3 separate regions of the Homo sapiens genome follow, and all the other regions are linked to region 3. Evidence: promoter capture Hi-C in 16 types of primary human blood cells and fetal thymus (Javierre and others, 2016). All regions are on one chromosome and are shown on one strand. The core of a region is centred on a gene start or on the middle of the fragment in contact, and the rest is flanking DNA. Distances in the headings are between cores, read along the strand shown. Region 1 overlaps LRMDA (leucine rich melanocyte differentiation associated). Region 2 holds the start of LOC124902462 (a long non-coding RNA gene). Region 3 holds the start of LRMDA (leucine rich melanocyte differentiation associated).

What was found. The method cuts DNA at HindIII sites, captures the fragments that hold promoters and counts their contacts. A CHiCAGO score of 5 or more calls a contact.
Region 1: a contact is called between a fragment that was not itself captured here and the fragment with the promoter of LRMDA in region 3, in 1 of 17 cell types (erythroblasts). The highest score is 5.5, in erythroblasts.
Region 2: a fragment that was not itself captured here is called in contact with the fragment with the promoter of LRMDA in region 3 in 1 of 17 cell types (M0 macrophages); the score reaches 5.6 in M0 macrophages.

The regions. Positions count from the first base shown.
Region 1 is chr10:76,045,302-76,048,553 of GRCh38, reverse strand. LRMDA (leucine rich melanocyte differentiation associated) reads right to left here. Exons shown (of 7, transcript NM_001305581.2): 4 at 1,251-1,390. Among named protein-coding and RNA genes, the nearest start is that of MIR606, 490 kb to the right of the region's middle. The HindIII fragment of the contact is 1,989 bases long and covers 893-2,881 here.
Region 2 is chr10:76,302,963-76,306,304 of GRCh38, reverse strand. All of the region lies in intron 5 of LRMDA (leucine rich melanocyte differentiation associated), which reads right to left. LOC124902462 (a long non-coding RNA gene) reads left to right here and starts at 1,289. Exons shown (of 3, transcript XR_007062203.1): 1 at 1,289-1,326. RefSeq lists a silencer at 2,280-2,574. The HindIII fragment of the contact is 3,309 bases long and covers 65-3,342 here.
Region 3 is chr10:75,430,222-75,433,333 of GRCh38, reverse strand. LRMDA (leucine rich melanocyte differentiation associated) reads right to left here and starts at 1,710. Exons shown (of 7, transcript NM_001305581.2): 1 at 1,580-1,710. The coding sequence starts at 1,609. It overlaps LOC107984293 (a long non-coding RNA gene), which reads left to right and starts at 1,724. Exons shown (of 2, transcript XR_001747703.2): 1 at 1,724-1,812; 2 at 3,024-3,112. RefSeq lists enhancers at 901-1,401, 1,402-1,902 and a silencer at 1,661-1,760. The HindIII fragment of the contact is 4,872 bases long and covers 1-2,877 here.

The DNA of each region.
Region 1 (3,252 bases), core at 638-3,137, 620 kb before region 3:
ACTCCACATCAGATCTTCTGATCTGACCCCACATACCTTGGTCTTAGTACTTTTGCTAATGCGACCAGTTACAATAGAAAAAACAAATAGTAATTATTTGAGAGCTGATGATACACCAAAAAAAGAATAGAAAAAAATTTTTCTTAGCTCTTCTTTTCCTTTTGCAACCTCATAAGCCCTGTACTTGAGACCAATCCCTCCCTACCTCTCTCATTCTAGAAAAAAATTACAAAAACTTGCCTACATGGTTGGCTTCACACATAGCTTCTTGGCCCCATGAATGAATGAATAAATGAACAAGTGCATGAATGTGTGTGTACACATACATATACATATAGACACAGACATATATGTATATATGCATATATACATATACAAAATTTATTAAGTTATTTTTAAGAGTGATTCAGGTGGGGTGTTTAATGAGAGCTTATGTCATAATGGAGAGAGAGGTCCATGAAAAGGTCATTAAAGCATTTACAAAACAACAATCAACAATGAGAACACAGACAATTTTAAATGAAGAAGGAAAATTAGGTGACTTTGGTAAAATGGGTAAGACCAAAAAGACTCTCTAAATGACTTTGGATCAGGGCTTTTAAAGCACATGGTTGAGAAGTAGAGAGAAGAACGAAAAGCATTTCTACTTGGAGCCCATCAAAGCGCATGGCTGGTGGGCGCCACGGCATAGCTCTATGGTGGAGAGGTATGGGCCTGTGGGACTTCCTCTTGAGATTGTCTATGAGCTCCCTAAATTTTGGTGGGAAGTCATCTCTCTCTTCAAGATGACTCTGAGACAGACCACAGAAAGATCTTACAACACAGAGCAGGGGTCAGCAAGTTACAGCCCATGGGTGAAATCTGGCCTGCCATCTGTTTTGTAAATAAAGCTTTACTGGAACAAAGCCATGCCCATTTGTTCACAAATTATGTATGACTACTTCTGCATTATGAAAGCAGGGCTGAGTAGTTGTGACAAGTCCATGTAACTTGGAAAACCTAAAATACTTAATATCTGGCACTTCACAAAAAAAGTAGAAAAGGCAATAACTTTTCATCTTTCTTAGCTTTTGTGACCTCAACCAAGAGAGACAATGGCTATAGGTTACCAAAAGGTAAAAGTTTAACATTGTCATGGGAAACCCACTGATATGTACCAAACATCTACTATGCACCCCAGAGTATAATATCATCCCCTAAAGTTTCTCTTTTTCCCTTTTCCCACCATGGTCCAACCCCTGGACACTCACCTGTATCTCTTGTAGTCTTCCTCATCCTTTTCCAAGCTGACCAGCTCGTTGGGACAGGCCACGTTGCCCAGCAGACTGAGGTACTCCAGAGCTGGTGTCACTTCTGCCAAGTGATCCAGCAGGTTCTCCAAATCAGTGATGTGACAAAGGTTAAGAATCTTGGTCCAGTAAGACAAAAGGCTTAGCAATGAGCATAGGCCATGACTGACAGGCGCTGATGAGTCCAGTCTGCTCCTGTGAGACCTCAGGGTGGGGGCTGAAATCAATTCAGCTGTGGGTATACGGTATTGCTACTTTTTCACTCCCACTGTTGGGAACACAGCCCAACTTTCGCTAGGCAGGTAAGACTAAGTCCAGATCATCTGAGGAAGAATGAATAAACTTGATTGTCCCATCATATTTTTCTTTCCTCTATAGTTCTGTTTCTAAAACACACCAAAAGGGAAGATTCCATAGAGTAAAATATTTTTACAATATGCAAAACCATAAAACTTAATTCGTTTCTAGTAATGAAAACAAGGGCTGGGCATGGTGGCCCACACCTGTAATTCCAGTACGTTGGGAGGCCCTGGTAGGCAGATCATTTGAGGTCAGGAGTTTGAGACCAGCCTGGCCAACATGGTGAAACCCGTCTCTACTAAAAATACAAAAATTAGCTGGGCATGATGGCAGGAGCCTGTAATCCCAGCTACTTGGGAAGCTGAGGCAGGAGAATCGCTTGAACCTGGGAGGTGGAGGTTGCAGTGAGTAGAGATCATGCCCCCAGGTGACAGAGCGAGACTCTGTCTCAAAAGAAAAAAACAAAACAAAAAAACCAGAAAAAGAAAACCAGAAATTATTTCAGAAGGCCTCATTAAAATATATTCTTTCTCTGTTAGTGAGGGAATTAGAGAATGAAAGAGAAAAGTCAGAGGGGGGCATGATGGGGGAGATTATTCCAGGAGCCATCTTCCAGTGGGACCCACTGTCCAATCATGGCCAAACCAAATAAAGCAAGAGCCATAGATTCACAGAATCACAGGTACTGGAAAGGGTTTAATGACAACTTAGTCCCCATACTAACTCCTGGCTTAAGCCACATACAGACAAGCTGAGCCTAGGTAAGGTGATGGTTAGATAGGCATGCCTGGTTAGGCCGTGACTTCGAGAGACATATGAGAGAGGGTTAACCAAGTTGGCAGATAAAAGGGGGTCCCAGCCAGGGAATGGCAGCAGAGCTACAGGAACAAAACATACAAGGGTAGAAGAAATGCCATATGCAAGCGTGAAAGACTCAGATTACAGTTCCCAGAAGTGGGGTCCACTTGAACCTAGGAGAAGGTAAAATCAAAGAAAAGGGATGTTCTTGCTCTGTGAGGATGTTATCTAACCTTGGGCTGTTACACAGATTTCCTCATACTTCATTTCAACTTGTCACAAAAGAATGAATTCAAAATCCAACCAATGTCGGAATTGGGTCCCTAAAATATTTGCCAAGCAATCACCACGACATAGCACATTCCATTTCTGACAACCATAACAGTTTTCCTTTCCCCTGGAATTGAATCTTTCTCTAACCTCTACTCAGTGACCCAATTTAACTGCTTGGGGTCACAAAGAATAAGGCTTCTTCTCTTCCACATGATGAAGCTTCAGATATTTGAAGCTCACATGTCTTCCTTAAATCTTTTATTCTCCAAACTAAGTTCCTTCAAGCATTCTTTGTACACATGCTCTGCCACCATCATATGCAAGGCCAAATGCTATACCCTAGGTGAGAGCAGCCAGAGACAATGAGAAGCAGAGTACAAGCAGAAGAGGTGAAACTAGCAAGAGAGGGAAACTAGCAAAAGAGGGGGAAACTAGCAAGAGGAGGAAACTAACCAGAGGGGGAAACTACCAAGAGAGGGGAAACTAACAAGAGAGGGGGAAACTAGCAAGAGAAGGAAACTAACCAGAGGGAGAAACTAGCAAGAGGAGGAAACTAACAAGAGGGGGAAACTAGCAAGAGAGGGGGAAACTG
Region 2 (3,342 bases), core at 470-2,969, 870 kb before region 3:
AGAGCCCACATGCTCTCAGTGTCTATATCAGGATAGCTAAAATCTGAAGAAGAACCATGAAGCTTGGATGCTAACATTTGGAATTCCAAAAGGGCTGCAGTATGCAAAAGTATGTGTGTATGTGTTGATTGCAGAGGAGAGGATAAGGATATAAAAAAACTCTGAGTTCCAAACCCAATCTTTCTTTGTAAAGTTAATACTAATCCTCAGCCTGTGTACCTTTCTAGATAAGAACTTAACTTTTCTAGATAAGGACTCTACATTATTAAATATTAATTTTCACAATACTAATGTGTTTATTATAAAATATAGTTAATATAGTAGATTGGAGCCAAGGGAAATGGTGGAAAATAGTTTAATAGATGGAAAGTCATTTGAGAAATAACCCCCAAAAATCTTTTCTCCTTTATTTTCTTTTTTCAAAATTTTCTGTAAATTATTCACAGAGCCGTTCTTGAAAGAGGCCTTTTTTATTTGCTTTATACTATCAATAACTGTTAACATCAAAAGTTTCATTCATCTAAACGTATACATATGTGTGAAGCTATTTCCTTGAGAGATTCCAGACCCAAATATATGATTACTACAAGAAAAATGACTAATCAAGTATCATAATCAGTAAGTCTGATGTCCTGTGCAATATTTCTAACCATTCTAGCAGCCTTATTCTCCCTGAAGCCAAAGGAAATGCAAAATTTAAGTTTATTTTCTAAAGAAACACTACCCTGTGCCCATCTTAGTCTTCAACTCTCAAACACATTGTGGTCTAGAGGGACTCAGTCACTGACAAAGTATGCATGAACCTACCCTGGGTGGGAGATCCCATTCTAGGTATATGTTTTGCTCAGGACAGTCCAATGTCCTGACCATGAAAGAAAGAAAGAGGAAGGGAGGGAGAAAAGAAAAAGAAAAAAGATGTTTTGAGGTTACTTTCCAAATGAGTTTTCATCCATTAAAACATTTTCCAACATTTTTCCTGACTCCGTTCTACCATCTACTGTCTTTTGTACCAATTATAAGATAGAAAGGGCCCAAGAAAGGGCCCACACATGCTACAAGCCCTCTTTTCTCTTATTCCATATCCAGGATTCCTAGGTTTTGAAAGGTAAACACGGCCACAGAAACTCCTCTGCTTTCTCCAGCTCCTGGGTTTATCCTGCAAGTGCACTTGCACAGACAGATTACAGAAGGGTAAGGCATGGTAGTGAGACACACAAAGAAGACCTGTAACCCAGATGGTTACAGAGCTCAAAGGACTCCACGAAGATTCACAAGGAAACTGGGGCCTCTCTGCTTAAAAACGTAGTGATTCACCTTGCTCTTGGGGTAAGCAAAGAGCACCATCCATTTCCTAGAAGGCCCTCTGCCCCAGCCCCTGCCTTCTCAGCCTCTCTTTTGCCTTCACTCCTCACCCTGAGAGTCATCACGTGGTGTTCTCCTGCTCCCGCAGGGCACTGTGCCCCATCCTGCTGGAGATCTTTGCAAAGCCTAGTCTTCCTTCCTAACTCCCTCCCAACATGCTTTGCCTGAGTTGTCCCCCTACTAGACACTTTGCTCCTTGAGGGCAGCGCCCTACTCCACCTGGGTGGCCCATAGTATCTTCTCGATAAATACTAAATGGTAAATTAAATGAACTTAAAATATTGAACAAATAGCATTCCCTGGCCTCCAAGGGTGGAGGATAACAATAAGTCCACATCTTCCCAGGCTAAGTCAGCCTCTGCACTGTCCTCTGATGGGAGCTCTCTACCCCATACCCCAACCCCTGCAAACAGGGCTTCTCAGTGTTGGACAGGTGGCATGCATAGTTCCTCCCTCCAAAATTCCCCATGTGGACACCCCTTTCTAGCAGAGCCCAGTTGATTTCTCGTATGTGAAAGGACTACAAGTTTAAGGTGCGCTTCTGCCAAATGGAGTCATCCAAAAGGTGTTTAGAACAAACAAAGGAAAACCTCCTTCCTGTACTTCAGACTGGGCTACAAATGGGAAACACAAAACCAAGCCTGTAGTTTCTAAGATGCATTCAGTGGCGTCTGTCTGGGATTTGGGATCTGGCAGGAGGGACCCCAGCCAGGAGTGATCTAAGGTAGCACCTGCTTGGCTCAGCTTTCTTTTTGTTATACCCATCTTTCTGTCTCCTTCAATGGATGGTTTTTGTTCCTTTCCTCTGATGAATGAGTAATTAAAAGTATAATCCAAATGAAGCCCCCAGGAGTGCAGGTACGCACACCATTAGTCACTGTTGTGCTCCTCCAGGGACCAAAGGGGAAGGCTAGAAAGGTTAGAGAAAGCCGTGAAAGGGCCTTCAGGGCTGTCATCAGGGGAGAAAACTGAGTTGTAGTGAGGCCTTCTTGTCACACAGCTCAGTCGGCAGAAGGGGGTGCTGTAGTGTAACCTATTTAGGATGCAAATAGAGTGTCTCCCGAGCTGCAGATGAAAGCGAGCGTGTTAGCCGCTGCCTGGCAGGTCCTCAGCAGTACTGAATGTCATATTCCTGCTTGTCACTGCTCACTGCAGGTCATTAATAGAACTCAGAATGGTGTTACTAAATGTGCACATTAAAAAACTGATCACCAAAAAAAAAAAAAAAGAGTGGCAATCCCATTCCCAGGGAATTCAACTCATCCAGCTCGGTGAAGATTTGTTTATTCAAGATCACTGGAGTTCAACAATTTTATTAGCTTAGATTGACAACTATCTATCACAGATGTACTACCCACTAAATGATAGTGGAAGAAGGGAGTTAAGGCCTCATGTGCGCGCCTGTGTGCAGTAAGAAAGAAGAGATCACTGAGAGCTAGAGGTTTCACAGATAGTGCCCAGCAAGTGAGCGCTGGACGGGCACCTCTCCCTTCTTCTTGGTTGGACTTCCACAGAAGTGGAACAAAAGACTCAGAACAAAACCTCCAGCTTCACAGAACCACGCCAGCTGGTACTTATGCTTTATTTTTTGACGCAGTCAGGTGTTCATTCTGCCAAGCAAGTTTTCATTCTTCCCTTTACTCCAGCCAATTCCTGTTTTCTTCAACTGGAGCTCCCCAAGACTCATCAAAAACACGATTTAATTACATCTCCAAAAAAAAAAAAAAAAAAGGGAGGAGTGTAAACATGACTCCTTTTTATCTCCTGATACATCTGGACAAGTAGACAATGTGCTAAAACAAAATAAATCTGCCCTGACAGTCACATCAAAGAGTTCAGCAAGGGGCTTGCAGCTACTTAAAGCACAGGAATGCTGTTGCTAAGCATCGGCCTACAACTTATCAGTCCCTGGAAGAAATGCTTTTTTCTTTCTTTCAGGGGGAGATGAGGAAAGTTAGAGTGGGAACCAGACTGCAAAAG
Region 3 (3,112 bases), core at 461-2,960:
GGCTGCAGGAAAAATCGAATCTAGGAAACGGAGGAAGAGCAAAGGGAAAGGAAGCACAGGAAAGTGCTCAGCCCCATGAACTTGTAGCAAGGTACACCGGGAGAACACCAAATCTGAAACGCAGAGAGACCTAGGGTCTGGGGGGCAGGGAACCCTCCTTCTTAGGTAGATACTCCAAGAGAAGGAAAAGACCCTCTTGTCCAGCCCCTCCCTCCAGGCAGTAAATTAACTCCCAGAAAAAAAAAGCCCCTTTCCCCGATGGCTGAACAAGACCCGTCATTTTTAGCCTCTCCGCAGGCTGTTAACTCACTTCTGAACTCTGGTCTTTCTCCAGCTCTCTCCTCCCAGGCTGTGGGTCAAGGGACAGAGCCAGCATTCCTGAGCAACAAAACTGTTAAATGGGGGGTGCACAGAGACAAAGGAAAGGCTAATTTCCAACAACACCTGGCATGGTGCCTGGCATACAGTAGGCACTCAATAAACATGTGTACCTGATGAAACGACAGGACTCTGGAAAAAAAGAAAACAGGCAGCGGCTAGTTTAATGGGCTGCACAGTTGGCCCTCACTGCATCTGTAGGAGCTGTAAAAACCCCTAGAATCTCCTCTAAGGAGGAATCATTCCCTTCAGCCCAAAGTAATCTCAAAATCCAATTGTGCCTGACACTACCTGCCTTAGGCAATCCAAGAGGAGAGCTTCAAAAACTCAGAACTATTTCTCCAGGGTGTGCAGGGAAAGGTGGGAAGTAAGAGGGCTCTGGCTTCATCAGAGCAGAGAAGAGGTTAAAGACAGAGAACTGGCTTTTCCAGCAGGTAAGAAAGACACCTGGTCCCAGAGTGGCTGGGTTCATCCCTCCAACAATGAACACCTGAGGCTTCACTACAGAGCTCAAAGCATGTGAGACTGGGTGTCTGGCACCCAGGATTGAAACTGGCGTGTTGCCATTCATCACAGACTCCTGTTCAAGAAATCGAGTGTGGAAAGAGAACTGGAGGTCGGTGGCCTTCCATCAGCCTTTGGCTATGGCGTAGCCCATTCAGCGCAGGGCCCACCAGCACCCTCATCTCCAGGGATGTGCTGGGACTTTGGGTACCCTAGACACTTTTGCCTTCATAAACCCCTTCCTCCATTTACAAATAAGTAAATTTGTATATTACAACTGCATTGGTATAAAGATGACTATATCAATGTGATTTATCAAAATGGATTCTTTGACCAAAAGTTTTTAAAATTCAGATTATGAAATTGGAACATTTTCTGTGGGCCCCCAAAAGCAGCGGGGGCCGTCAGCACTGTGTCCGCTGGGCCTGCTCAGTGAGGCGCTAAGGGCAGAAGGAAGTGGGGAGAACGGGAGACCTTGCGGGTGTTCTTCCCGCACATCAAGGGGGTGTGCCAGGCCCGAAACGAGGTCTGTCCTAGCCCCACTAGGGCGAGCCTGAGCACCTGAAGCTCACCCCCTGCAGACGCAGCCCCCTGAGGCGGGGACAGGGGTGTCTAGGCCCTGGGGAGCCTCTGTGCCCCGCTGTCCCTCCCCACGCGGACTGCGCCCCGGGCGGAGGCGGGGCTGGCCGGGACTTACTTGAGTTCCACGCACCACGAGCCCGGCCATGGCGGCCAGGACGCTGCGGGCGCGCGGGACGGAGCGCGGGGGCGCGGCGGCAGCAGCGGGGAGCGCGGCAGGGGAGCGCGGCGGGCGCACAGTTCCGCACTGGGCAGTCAGCTGACCCGGCGGAAGCCGGAGGCGCGGGCTAGCCTCGGGGACCTCAGCTCCGCCGCTCGCCGCCGCCGCCCCTCGGCCCGGTCTCCGCGCAGGTGAGCCCTGGCCGCCCGCTGCAACAGGTGGCCCGCAGCGCCCCGCGCCCCGACGGCGGCCTGACCCCGACTGCCCGCGCCCCTCCCTCCCCCGGATGTCCCAATGCCCAAAACTCCATGCCCACAGCTTTATCGCGTTTGTCTGGGCCACGCCTGAGGTGGGGGTATTCCTATCAGGGGCGCCCTTTCTGAGCCGTTAGCCGGGCTGTAGCCAGCCGGGCCTTTCCTGCATTTCGCAAGCTGGGTTACATAATGGACCTCAACTGCAGCGAGGAGGGGCCTCTTGGCTGAACGCCCCTCCTCATCAAAGCTGGGGAGAGGGAAAGTTAGAAGGTTGAAGGACTCCTGGTGCGGCCCAGTTTCCATTTGTAGGAGGGGAGGGGGATTGGGGGGGTTGAATTTCCCTATAAATAAAACGCTGGCTTGGTGAAGACCACCCCACCCTTTCCCTGTGGCCTCTAAGAGTTGACAATAATAAACCCTGGGGAAGGATAATTGGCTGGTGACCCCAAATTTCAGGCTTCTCTTCTCCTGCTCCTCAGAGGGCAAGAGATTTGTGAGGCTTGAAGTTATCAGTGGGGTTATTCGCTGTTCCCCACCCACCCCATCCCCACCTGGAAGAGCTGGCCACGGGCCTCCTGTCTGGATGAAAGTAGGCCCAGTGGGCAGGTAACTCCCTAAACCCATGCCTGTTTTTCTCTGAAATTCTCTGGAAGGATCCAGATTTTCTCCTTGCCTATTCTTGCCTCCAAGTCCAGGATGCACAGAGCTACCAGATATCAACTGGTTGTCATCTTCCACTCTTGCTGCAGCTAAGAGCCAGCCCAGCCTTAACTGGCATCGTCTCTCAGACAGCCCCGGTCCTAACACATTGTTAGGTGGGCCCTTGTCAGCATTTTGATGAGCAGTGTTGATCTCGGAGGGTTGACCTTCCTGCCCCTCTCTCAGCTGGGAGGAGCAGGCTCAGAAGAGTAGAGCAGTAAGAATGCAGTCTTGACTGTGTTTACTTTGGGGGATTCCAGGAAATGCTGCAACAAAAGGTCCTGCAGGCCAAAAAAGAAAGCTTACCCTCCAGAGATAAGGGGATCAAAGGGAACCTTCCCAGGCCTGTTGCCCCAAGGACCAGCTCCCCCGCCTTCTCCCTCCTTCTCTGCTGGACGCGCCCTCTCTGGTCCATTGTGCACTTTTGTCTGCTTTTCCTGCCTGAAAAGGAGGAAGTGAGCCCGGACCCAGCCAGCACTCTGCCCTCCGCAGCTGCCTTTCAGCTCAGCTTTCCTAGAAGGGCTTTGACAGATGGAAG